Linked DNA regions of Homo sapiens: region 2 is linked to region 1. The links are contacts of gene promoters, found by promoter capture Hi-C in human tissues and cell types (Jung and others, 2019). All regions are on one chromosome and are shown on one strand. Each heading gives the region's core, a stretch centred on a gene start or on the middle of the fragment in contact. The rest is flanking DNA. Distances are from core to core; before and after follow the strand shown. Region 1 holds the start of VIM (vimentin). Region 2 overlaps HACD1 (3-hydroxyacyl-CoA dehydratase 1).

Region 1 (6,273 bases), core at 3,774-6,273:
ACCTGAGTTGATTCCATGTCTTTGTTATTGTGAATAGCGCTGCAATGATTATTTCTCCACCTATGCTCTTTAGCATTTTATCCTATCTGTGCTACAGCACTCACTTACCACATTCTGCTATGTATTCCAACTCTTTACCTGCTTTCTAATCCTTATACAAAGCTATGAGATCCCTAGAGGCACAAAAAGCACCTTACTTACTGAAATATACTAAGAAACATTGCAGGCAGTGCAAAAAAATATGAATACATCTATCTGTTAAATGGAATATGAGGAAAGACCTGAGGGTGGGGGAAATGTACTATATTCATGGAAGAAGAAGGAGCTTAGGGTTCTACTGAAATTGCTGCTTGTGGGGAACAGTGGAAAATGAGGATAGATATATATACTTGACATAACTTCCAAAGGCCACTAGTTAACTATGATCCTCAACCTCCTCTGCAGGAAAATTTCTGTTTCCCTCATAGTCTTTATCACCAGTTGCAATCATTTTGTTTGTTCCTTTACGAGTATTGTCTCTCTGTATCATATACATATACGCAGACTCAACACTATGTTCCAAGAGGCTTTGGGCCATACCTGCTTTGGTCCCTTCCCCAGTGTCTACCAGACTGCCCGGCACATGGCAAATACTCAATAAGTATGTTTGGAGTAAAAGAATAAAAGTTGTGTATCACGATACCTTGTGAAGATTAAATGCAGTCATGTCTAAAGTGACTAGCACAATGCTTAAACATAATAAGCACCAGTAAATATTAGCCCCACACCTATATTTCTTCCTTCTATGAACTACTCATGTATTAATGTATATATTCGACAGATGTGCCTGGCTTTTCTCTAGCCACTGGAAATACAATAGTCAACAAAAGAGAGAAAAATTCCTACCTGCCCTTAGGGAGATTACATTCCAGTGAGGAAATGAGCAATTCCTGCCAAGAAGTTTAAAGAAGGAAGTTTTTGGCCAAATGTGGAGGCTCACACATTTAATCCCAACATTTTGGGAGGCCAGTGCTGGAGGATTGCTTGAGCCCAGGAGTTCAAGACCAGCTTGGGCAACATAGCAAGACCCTGGCTCTACAAAAAATAAAAAGTTAGCTGGGCATGGATGGCACTCCCAGCTTCTAGGGAGGCTGAGGCAGTAGGAATACTTGAGCTCAAGAGTTAAGAGGCTGCAGTGAGCTATGACTGCGCCACCGCACTCCAGCCTAGGCAACAGAGCAAGCCTTTGTCTCTCTCTCTCTCTCTCTCTCTCTCTATATATATATATATAAGTTTTAAAGAAAAAGGGGTGATGGCTTGAAGATAGATGCATTGGTGGCAGAAAAGAAAGCATGGAGGGGCCGGGCGCAGCGGCTCACACCTGTAATCCCAGCACTTCGGGAGGCCAAGGCGGGTGGATCACGAGGTCAGGAGATTGAGACCATCCTGGCTAACACGGTGAAACCCCGTCTCTACTAAAAAAATACAAAAACTTAGCCGGGCTTGGTGGCGGGCGCCTTTGGTCCCAGCTACTGGGAAGGCTGAGGCAGGAGAATGGCGTGAACCTGGGAAGCGGAGCTTGCAGTGAGCCGAGATCGCGCCACTGCACTGCAGCCCCGGGGGACAGAGCGAGACCCCGTCTCAAAAAAAAAAAAAAAAAGAAAAGAAAGAAAGCAAGAAAGCATGGAGGAACGGAAGCCAATTGCAGTATTGCAGGAAGGAGGTATGAAATGGCTTGGATCTGAGTGACAGCAACGTAACAGAGGAGTGGATCCAGGAAGAGCGGGGCATGATACCCATTGGATCTGAGATGGAAGAGTTAGTTAGGAAGTGGCAATGATGAAAGTTTCCAATCTTGTTGTTTTGCTGTATTGCCCTGAATAGACAGGGAAGCTGGCAGGGGAAGCGATGGTGGTTCATGGGCTTTAGGGCGTGAGACGAGCTAAACCCAGTCTTGAATGTGATTCCTCCTAAGAGGCAAAATGGAATCTAAATGAAAATTTTTAACTCACTAATGAAAGTAATGTTTTAGAATGCAGGTGAAAACAAATCTCCCTTCTTACATAGTATGATCACTGTTACGTCATTTGATTTTGTTTTTTACATCATTTTACATCGTAAACATGGTGTTATAGCTGTCTGCCAAATTCCTCTAAAAATATGCCCCTTCGCAGCAAGATCTGTGTTAATCATCCCATCTCTTCAGTTCCTGGAACACAGTAGGTCCCTAAATGATAAGTCCAGCACTTAATATTTGTGAATTGAACTGGTTGATAGTAAGCAAAATTTTGTTATCAAGGCAAACAGAAAAGAGAAGTGCATTTAGAGTCAGAAAGGCCTCGATTCAAATTCTTGTCCCCTTCTTCCCACCCCTGCTAGTCATACAACCACAAGAAAATTGCTAGCCTGCATCTTAGGCTCCTCATTAGTGAAATGGATGATCAAGTCTATCTTGCAGGAGGGTGTGAGTGCATCAAGTTAAATTAAATATATACACAGTGTCTGTCATTCAGTTGGCATCGACATTACCTATTATACTATTTATTATTATTACCTGTATTTCCATGGATTTTAGGTTTTGCTATGGTTTTCATGCTCTCAGTGTACCCTCCTTCTTCTTTCTAACATTCCATCCAAACAGTCCTGCTAGATGCTGTTCTCTTGGCATGGCTAGCCAGCTTTCCCAAAGCCTCCATAGGCCACTAAGCTTCTGTCCACACGGCTGGCTGGTCCGTCAGTTTAAGTCACCCAATTCAACTGACATCATGACAGCTTGCAAATTCCAAAATCACTGTTGGTAATTTAGATGTGGTAGTGTTTATGCCTGGCCTATGAATTATACCACCACGTCTTTATTTATATGCAACTTGCATCATGCTGTGTTGAAAGCAGCTTCCCAGTCCAGCACTTGAAAATACTTCTCAGATAGGTTTTCATAGCAATTAAAAAATAAACACAAAACCCGGGAAAGCTATGTCTGTGTACCCAAAAGATACCTAAGAACACAGTAGCATAGAGAGCAGGCTGAGTTGTCTCACTCAAGGATGTGAGTTCAGATTCATTGATCTCCCTGACTGAAAACTATCACCCATTGATTGAGGCACTGTATATCTTATCTCAGAATGAAATGAATTCTTAAGTCTCATGAATTCTACATGAATGAATGAAAGTGTTTCTGCAACTTTCACTTCTCTTGCAGCCCACCAAAAACAATGGCATTTTCTAATAGGAAAAACACATTGAACGCTGTATATGTGCGTATGTATATGTGTGTGTAGTACATACATATACTTTATTTTGAGACAGGTTCTCACTCTGTTGCACAGGGTGGAGTGCAGTGGTGTGCACAGCCTACTGCAGCCTCAATTTCCCAGGCTCAAGCAATCCCCCTGCCTTAGTCTCCCAAGTAGCTGGGACCACAGGTGTGCACCATCACGCCTGGCTTTTTTTGGTTTCATATATATATGTTGCCTAAGCTGGTCTCAAACTCCTGATCTCAAGCAATCCTCCTGCTTTGGCCTCCCAAAGTGCTGGGACTACAGAACACCTACACTTTTATACATTCTATATGCATCAAACAAACATATGTCTGTGACAAGAGAGCAGCCTATCACAGCCCAGAGACTTCAGAATGGGGACAGGTTGGAAGGAGGAGCTACCTATCCCTGAGATGATGAAGAGGACCAGTGCCCATTCCAGGAGACATCACCGCAGCCCTGAGGAATCGGCTATGGGCACCAGCAGGGCACAGTGCCACACCTCGCCAATGCCTTGTCCTCCTTTTCCATAGTGAGTCAGTCAGCAAGCGTCGCATTGCCCTGGGATCGGCACTGCACGTAGAAGTGAGTTCCACACTCTCTTCCTCCCATAGGGAGATCACTTTTCTCATTCTAAGGGTTCCAGGCACACTCACAATGGTGGCATTTGCTGAGCAGTGGCTTGAATAAAGGGCTCTCAGAAAGCAAGATGTAACTCAGAGCATAGGCTTGTCCTCCAGGGCACCCAGCCCCAGGAATGCTCTTGGGGAATGACCTGCAGCCTCCCAGTGAAAGAGAGAATAAAAGAAAGCCCCAGCAGGCGAGCTGGGCAGTAGAGAGTCCTGTAATTCCACCTTGGCAAGCACCATTTGCAAGAACGAACTGGGATAAGGTAAACAAAATATTGCCTAAAAGAGGCTTGTCCAAAGAAGTCAGAATACGCTCTTCATTTACCTCTAAATTATGTTTCTTAAATACCAAGTAACCTGCAGTACCCCCTGCCGCCACCAAAAAAAAAGAGAGAAATACTTTTTTTTCTCCTATCCACTGCAGAATCAATTTTACAGTGGTTCTGCAGTTAATCCTTTCAGTACACCATAAATCTAAATACTCAAAAAAACCTGTGCCTTTTCAATTGCTACTAAATCACGAGAAGACTGATTTACATAGTCTCCTTTTATCTCCCTTGGCGGGTAAGTACTCAGCTCTGCTCGTTACTAATATTGAAACAACAGCCCTTGAATTGAGTGATTTCCCTAGAAAGGTTAAGGTGACCGAATCTGAACACTCCCTCCATGTCTTGGACACGAAGTTTTTTGCTGCGTAGACAGTTTTATCCCCCTCACCCCAAGGTCAATTGCACGAATTCTTTTGGAAAACAGGACCTATGGCATTTCCCAGACAAATCACCGTGAACCCTGTACTGTGCATTGCTGTCCTAAAATTAACACATAAATCTATTGCCGCCAAAGATTCTGTCATTTGTGTTACATAATTGCCTTTCATTTGAACTCATTAATCAAATTGGGGTTTTTAAGCAACACCTAATTAATTCTTTAACTGGCTCATATTATACCTTTAATGACTTCCACCAGGGTAAAAACCACTGATCACTGAGTTCTATTTTGAAACTACGGACGTCGAGTTTCCTCTTTCACCCAGAATTTTCAGATCTTGTTTAAAAAGTTGGGTGTGGTTTCATGGGGGGAGGGGGAAGAGCGAGAGGAGACCAGAGGGACGGGGGCGGGGACTCTGCAAGAAAAACCTTCCCGGTGCAATCGTGATCTGGGAGGCCCACGTATGGCGCCTCTCCAAAGGCTGCAGAAGTTTCTTGCTAACAAAAAGTCCGCACATTCGAGCAAAGACAGGCTTTAGCGAGTTATTAAAAACTTAGGGGCGCTCTTGTCCCCCACAGGGCCCGACCGCACACAGCAAGGCGATGGCCCAGCTGTAAGTTGGTAGCACTGAGAACTAGCAGCGCGCGCGGAGCCCGCTGAGACTTGAATCAATCTGGTCTAACGGTTTCCCCTAAACCGCTAGGAGCCCTCAATCGGCGGGACAGCAGGGCGCGGTGAGTCACCGCCGGTGACTAAGCGACCCCACCCCTCTCCCTCGGGCTTTCCTCTGCCACCGCCGTCTCGCAACTCCCGCCGTCCGAAGCTGGACTGAGCCCGTTAGGTCCCTCGACAGAACCTCCCCTCCCCCCAACATCTCTCCGCCAAGGCAAGTCGATGGACAGAGGCGCGGGCCGGAGCAGCCCCCCTTTCCAAGCGGGCGGCGCGCGAGGCTGCGGCGAGGCCTGAGCCCTGCGTTCCTGCGCTGTGCGCGCCCCCACCCCGCGTTCCAATCTCAGGCGCTCTTTGTTTCTTTCTCCGCGACTTCAGATCTGAGGGATTCCTTACTCTTTCCTCTTCCCGCTCCTTTGCCCGCGGGTCTCCCCGCCTGACCGCAGCCCCGAGACCGCCGCGCACCTCCTCCCACGCCCCTTTGGCGTGGTGCCACCGGACCCCTCTGGTTCAGTCCCAGGCGGACCCCCCCCTCACCGCGCGACCCCGCCTTTTTCAGCACCCCAGGGTGAGCCCAGCTCAGACTATCATCCGGAAAGCCCCCAAAAGTCCCAGCCCAGCGCTGAAGTAACGGGACCATGCCCAGTCCCAGGCCCCGGAGCAGGAAGGCTCGAGGGCGCCCCCACCCCACCCGCCCACCCTCCCCGCTTCTCGCTAGGTCCCTATTGGCTGGCGCGCTCCGCGGCTGGGATGGCAGTGGGAGGGGACCCTCTTTCCTAACGGGGTTATAAAAACAGCGCCCTCGGCGGGGTCCAGTCCTCTGCCACTCTCGCTCCGAGGTCCCCGCGCCAGAGACGCAGCCGCGCTCCCACCACCCACACCCACCGCGCCCTCGTTCGCCTCTTCTCCGGGAGCCAGTCCGCGCCACCGCCGCCGCCCAGGCCATCGCCACCCTCCGCAGCCATGTCCACCAGGTCCGTGTCCTCGTCCTCCTACCGCAGGATGTTCGGCGGCCCGGGCACCGCGAGCCG
Region 2 (6,273 bases), core at 2,586-5,085, 370 kb after region 1:
GAGTGCAGTAGCATGATCTCAGCTCACTGCAACCTCTGCCTCCCAGGTTCAAGCAGTTCTCCTGCCTCAGTCTCCCGAGTAGCTGAGATTACAGGCATGCATCACCACCACACCTGACTAATTTTTCTGTTTTTAGTAGAGATGGGATTTCACCAGGTTGGTCAGCCTGGTCTTGAACTCCTGGCCTCAAGTGATCCGCCTGCCTCGGCCTCCCAAAGTGCTGGGATTACAGGCATGAACCACTGCGCCCGGCCTATTTTTGCTTGTTTTTAACAAACTTAAATACCTTGATAAAAATACCTTCATAATGACCTGGAAGACCATGTTTGAGTTTAGAATTCTGAACTCTTTGGAATGCTGCGCCAGAACATTCCAGCACAGGGAAAACTGGCCCCACCCAGCCTCCTCTTCTCCATTCTACTGGCTGTATCCTGTACTGCAAGGGGTCTCCTGCACATGTGTGAGGATACCCGGGTGCATACATCTAAGCTTCATCCATACCCCTCACAAACAGCTGCCCCCTGGCTATCCTGTTTTCTCAGGGGTGCGTATACTGATACATGGTTAACCCTCAGGACCATGGATCAACGAAGAAGCCTGGTTAGGGCCCAGATGCATGCTCATTGCCCTCTGGGTAGCAAATTCCATGGTCTCAGGTTTCTAGAATGTGATCTAGAAGGCAGTGGGGTGCTGTGTGGAGTGACCACAGAAGAGCTACAGCAAGGTCCTCTTAACAGAGCCTAAAGCAGAAGCTCCTCCTGGCTGGGTGTAAGGGTATTTAATCCATTATATAATAACACATAAATACATACGTTATTAGGTCAGTTGGACAAATTGTCATCTGTCCAGTCAAATTTGAAGAATATTTTGAACCAATTTGAACCAGTGTTTCAAACCAGTGTTTCATAGTATAAATGTTGGTGGATAAACAAATTAATATCAGCTATAAACAATGCCAGTGTAAAAATATTTCTGAATATGATGATCAGAATAATCAAACCAATGAACCTTATCACAAAACAAGCTTTGAATATCCTGCTTAGGCAACTTTGGATAAAAAGTCTTTCTATTTAGGTTCTTCCTAACTTAAGAAAGGTTACCATCACATTATATATACCTAGGGGGCTAAATTTACTCAGGTCATAATTACTTAAACTCACTGACCAATTATTGTAAATACTTCCATAAAATTCCGAGTAGCTGAACAGAAGGTATGGGCTTGAGTTCAAACCCTGCCTTAACTCACCAGCTACTGATTTTTTTTTTTTTTTTTTTTTTTGAGATGGAGTCTCACTCTGTCACTCAGGCTGGAGTGCAGTGGTGTAATCTTGGCTCACTGCAACCTCTGCCTCCCCGGTTTCAGTGATTTTCCTGCATCAGCCTCCTGAGTAGCTGGGACTACAGGTGCCCACTACCATGTCTGGCTAATTTTTGTATTTTTAGTAGAGACGGGGTTTCACCATGGTGGTCAGGCTGGTCTTGAACTCCTGACCTCAAGCAATCCTCCCACCTTGGCCTCCCAAAGTGCTGCGATTACAGGTGTGAGCCACCACACCAGGCCACAAGCTAGTGATTTTTAAGCAACTCACTTAACCTCTTTCATCTTAATGTAAATGAGAAATAATACTACTACTTTTGAATACTAAGTACTCAAAAAGTACTTTTAATTAGCAAAGGATTTAATAAGTAAAATTAATTGATTTATTACTAACATTAAGAATGCAGGGGGAGGAGGGAATTAAAAAAAAATGCAGTGGAAAACATGTTCTGGGCTGAGTGATTCTCTGGCCAGTGGGACTCAGTAGCTGGCAGCATGGTGAACTGGGAAGCTGCTACTGGTACAGGCCAGAGTCTACATCTCCCAGGACAACTGAAAAAGGTGCTTCAGGCTCTCCATTTCCATGGAGATGCCTCAAAAGCCATGAGGAGGAAGAGAACCCACTGTTTGAACCTGTAACTGTCAGACAGACACCGAAGCAAGCTCTGGTTCTGTTCAAGTAATGCTACCATTAACCTGCCATTGGGAAAAGAGAGGGATGTGAACCAATAGAGTAGGCATCCCCTCCTTAGCTCTCCCGAACTGGCTGGGGTAGAAAATCAGATACAGAATCAGGCTGAAGTGGTAGAAGACAAGGGGAAAACATATCTTTCACCACTAAGTCAATTTTGACTTTGGGAAAGATACAAGTTGGAGACATCTGCCGGGGGCAGGGGCTCATGCCTGTAATCCCAGCACTTTGGGAGACCAAGGTGGGTGGATCCCTTGAGGTCAGGAGTTTGAGACCAGCCTGGCCAATATGGTGAAACCTCGTCTCTACTAAAAATACAAAAATTAGGTGGGCACTGTGGCAGGCGCTTGTAATCCCATGAACCTGAGAGGCAGCGATTGGAGTGAGCTGAGATGGCGCCACTGCACTCCAGCCTGGGCAAAAGCGCAAGACTCTGTCTCAAAAAAAACAACAAAAAAAAGTTGGAGACCTCAAGGGGCTGGCCAAGTTTTATGCGCATCTCCTTTAGATGAAATAATTTGTATCATGTCGATGTAGATTTTAGAGCTATCAATATTTGACTTAAAAATATATCACTATTAGCCCCCACGCCTTTTTTTTTTTGAGACAGAGTCTCACTCTTATTGCCCAGGCTGGAATGCAATGGCATCATGTCAGTTCACTGCAACTTCTGCCTCTCAGGTTCAAACGATTCTCCTGCCTCAGCCTCCTGAGTAGCTGAGATTACAGGCATGCGCCACCATGCCCAGTTAATTTCTGTATTTTAGTAGAGACAGGGTTTTGCCATGTTGGCCAGCCTGGTCTCGAACTCCTGACCTCAGGTGATCCACCTGCCTCGGCCTCCCAAAGTGCTGGGATTATAGGCATGAGCCACGGAGCCCTGCCTCACTATTAGCAGCACTGAAATGGAGTAAAGCCTTACCAATTCACTTCAACTGCTGAAAGATGATGAGAAATTAGTGAAGAGGCTGACTTATTCAAAATCCTTTAAGAAAAGAGGCTTTATTATTTGCAAGTACATAGAGCAACACAAATAAGACTCAAAACTACTCCTAGATGATTTTTCCAAGTATATGCTTAATGAATAGATAGAAATGATCTGAAATTTTCTTGGACACAGTGTTTATACTCAGACATATAATTCTAAATGCTTGTAAAAAGTGCACTAATGCTTTAAACATGATTTGTTTTTATCTTTCTTTAAAAAAATCATACTAAGCTGATGTTTAAATGATTTTGAGAAAGCAATAATCCATGCGTTAATTTACCTGCCTTTATTCTCATAGCTAATGAACTGTCTTCTGCCTCTATCTCCCTTCACTTTTCCCAAATTATCAGTAAATATGGAGTTAAACCGAAGTTTTAATGTATTTGTAAGCAATTATTTCTAATTATTTCCCCTTGCATATTATTATATCCTTTCAAAAATTTCCACATCATATGTCAAATCAAAGTACTAATAAGTATATACTTACAAGGTATATATGATGCCATGGTTATAAGAAGAAAATAATAGTAGTCAAAAGAGACATTGTATTTGTTAGGAAGTCTTATTGAAAACATTCCTGTTTTCTTCACATGCGGCAAGGCAGCGTATATTGTAAGAAGTTCACCAGCAACTCCAACAGGATATAAGATGATAAAAAAATTATATCTGGAGAAAGAAAAACCTCAGAGAATTATTTTTCTACAATAATTATTAGACTTTACATTGCAGGTCTATTGCTACTACTAAATTTAAACTTCAAAATTCTCTTTTCTTTACATATTTACAATAACCTTACGTAAGGTTAATAGTTCTACTTTAATCATTTGCTTATTGATTATCATCCTTTTTTTCCTAATACCAGTTTCCATAATAGGCAATGTCTTTTTAATAAAATAGTATCAACTTATTTTAGAGTACCAAAATACTTTTATGTATTAAAAAATGTATATGTAGTTTTTCTTGTTTTTGTTTTGAGATGGAGTTCGCTCTTGTCACCAGGCTGGAGTGCAGCGGCACAGTCTTGGCTCACTGCAACCTCCACCTCCTGGGTTCAAGTAATTCTCCTGCCTCAGCCTCCCAAGTAGCTGGGATTACAGGTGTGTGCCACCATACCCAGCTAATTTTTGGTGTTTTTTTTTTTTGTTTTTTGTTTTTTTTTGAGATGGAGTCTTACTCTGTCGCCTAGACTGGAGTGCAGTGGCACAATCTTGGGTCACTGCAACCTCCACCTCCCGGGTTCAAGCAATTCTCCTGCCTCAGCCTCCTGGGTAGCTGGGACTACAGGCGCCCGCCACCACGCCCGGTTAATTTTTGTATTTTTAGTAGAGACAGGGTTTCACCATGTTGGTCAGGCTGGTCTTGAACTCCTGCCTTCAGGTGATCCACCCGCCTCAGCCTCCCAAAGTGCTGGGATTACAGACATGAGCCACCATGCCCGGCCTATGTAGCTTTAAAAAAAGTATTGTAATGGTAACTTCTTTGGTGCATAAAATCACAAATGACTGCTTTTGTCCGCGGCAGCTAGTAATTTATTGATCAAACACTGCGTTTAAAAAGACCAGTGATTATCCTAAATTTTATATCTAAACCTTGAAATTACCAAGGTAGTTATTTTTAAGAGGCATTTGAAAAAGTCTTTGTGGTTACTAATGAAAACCAATTATTGCAGAAAACTGATAATACCACCTGAAGCATGAGTAGCTACTAATGAGTATATTATATTGTCTAAAACTGCTACCGTAACAAAATAAATTGACAAGTTAGTTCCTGAATTCCCACATTAAAAGAAGAGTGAGCTTGTTTAAAGTAGAGTTAAGAAAGTTCTACTCTAAATCCAAAGTCATCATGTGTTCATTTGGTCTGTGGCAAGGTCTGGAACACACAGTAGGCCAGGCATCCTGTATGCTTCCAATTAGGAAACACTCTGTGTTCTACTGGCTGGTCTCCAATAAGAGGGGCCTAAAGGATCCAAGATGATCATATTTCTTCATTAAAAAAAAAAATCATTTTTCTCTGACTCAGTCACTATATAACAGTTACCACAGAAAACTTAAGAGGCCAGAGTGCAAGACCACTCTGGGCGATATAGTAAGACCCCGTCTCACAAAAAAAAATTTAATGAGCAGACCACAGTGGTGCATGCCTGTCGCCCCAGCTACTTGGGAGGCTAAGGCAGGAGGATTGCTTGAGCCTAGGAGGTCAAGGGGGCAGTGAGCCAAGACCGCACCACTGTACTCCAGCCTGGGTGACACAGCGAGACCCTGTCTCAAAAAAAATAAATTTAATTTAAAAAAAGAAAAATGTTTTTAATTTAAAACAAAAGGTCAACATTTTGATGGAAAAAGAAATCAAATTAATCTGTATTTTATTTAATCATTTTGTTGGCATTAGGAAATATCTATAAAGAAAAGTCAAAGTTGTCAGTATTGAAGAAGCTTGGAGACAAATTAAAAATTGCATTATTCCTGTATGTCAAGGATATGCGAAGATAAGAGATGGGGAGAAGGGCAGAATTATTTGCCAAAATAGATGAGCTATTCAAGAAAGAAGAATGATTCCTTCACTGTACCTGTTAATCCCTTCTTGGCCTTGGAGAAACTCCCTGCTTTCTTACCAGTTTTGGGTAGTTATTTGTGTATCATTTAAATCAATCTTTCCCTATTCCTCAATTTATTAAATCCCATAACTGGACATTTTATATACCTGTCTCAGTAAAATACCCAAACTGATTAAGTTGCAATTTTTACTTTATGTGGTTTTCAAAAGATTTTTTTTTTTTTTGGCAGGATTGTTCTTCAATAGAAGAAAAAATTAACACTCCTACAATAAGCTAGTTGAAAGTCTTAAGGGCAATGAAAATTTCTAATGAAATGGGAACAAATTATATAATTTGACTTTACTTGCACTTCAAAAAGATTGCATGTTACTACTTCTCTAAGTTCTGAGGGCAGTATGGGAGATTTAACTATGGATAGACCACATTAAAAAAAAAGATACAATGCTTCTTTGAAGGTTCCCAATTACTATCTAAAATTTTTTTGAAGGGAGTGCATTTTAAATCAATATGAAAAACCTAACTTAATATATACAATTACCTATTCTGAGGACTTTTCCAAGAACACTTATGACACATAAATAGAATCAAAGTATATTCAAACTGTAACAATAGGCCAAACTACTTATAACTAAGAAGCCATTTCTAAAGTGTAGTTTTATTCGAGAATGACAGCTTCAACATCTGAACATAAATACAAATATTATTTTACCTTACTTAAT

Evidence for each region. Contacts are between HindIII fragments. The study calls those that stand out against the background at their distance.
Region 2: a contact is called between a fragment that was not itself captured here and the fragment with the promoter of VIM in region 1, in 1 of the 25 tissues and cell types used here (H1 embryonic stem cells).

What each region holds. Positions count from the first base shown.
Region 1 is chr10:17,223,218-17,229,490 of GRCh38, forward strand. VIM (vimentin) reads left to right here and starts at 5,024. Exons shown (of 10, transcript NM_003380.5): 1 at 5,024-5,307; 2 at 6,059-6,273. The coding sequence starts at 6,206. VIM-AS1 (VIM antisense RNA 1) reads right to left here. Exons shown (of 3, transcript NR_108061.1): 1 at 6,128-6,273. RefSeq lists a silencer at 3,503-3,717. The HindIII fragment of the contact is 8,806 bases long and covers 1-6,273 here.
Region 2 is chr10:17,590,721-17,596,993 of GRCh38, forward strand. HACD1 (3-hydroxyacyl-CoA dehydratase 1) reads right to left here. Exons shown (of 7, transcript NM_014241.4): 6 at 3,485-3,663. Among named protein-coding and RNA genes, the nearest start is that of HACD1, 24 kb to the right of the region's middle. The HindIII fragment of the contact is 6,159 bases long and covers 757-6,273 here.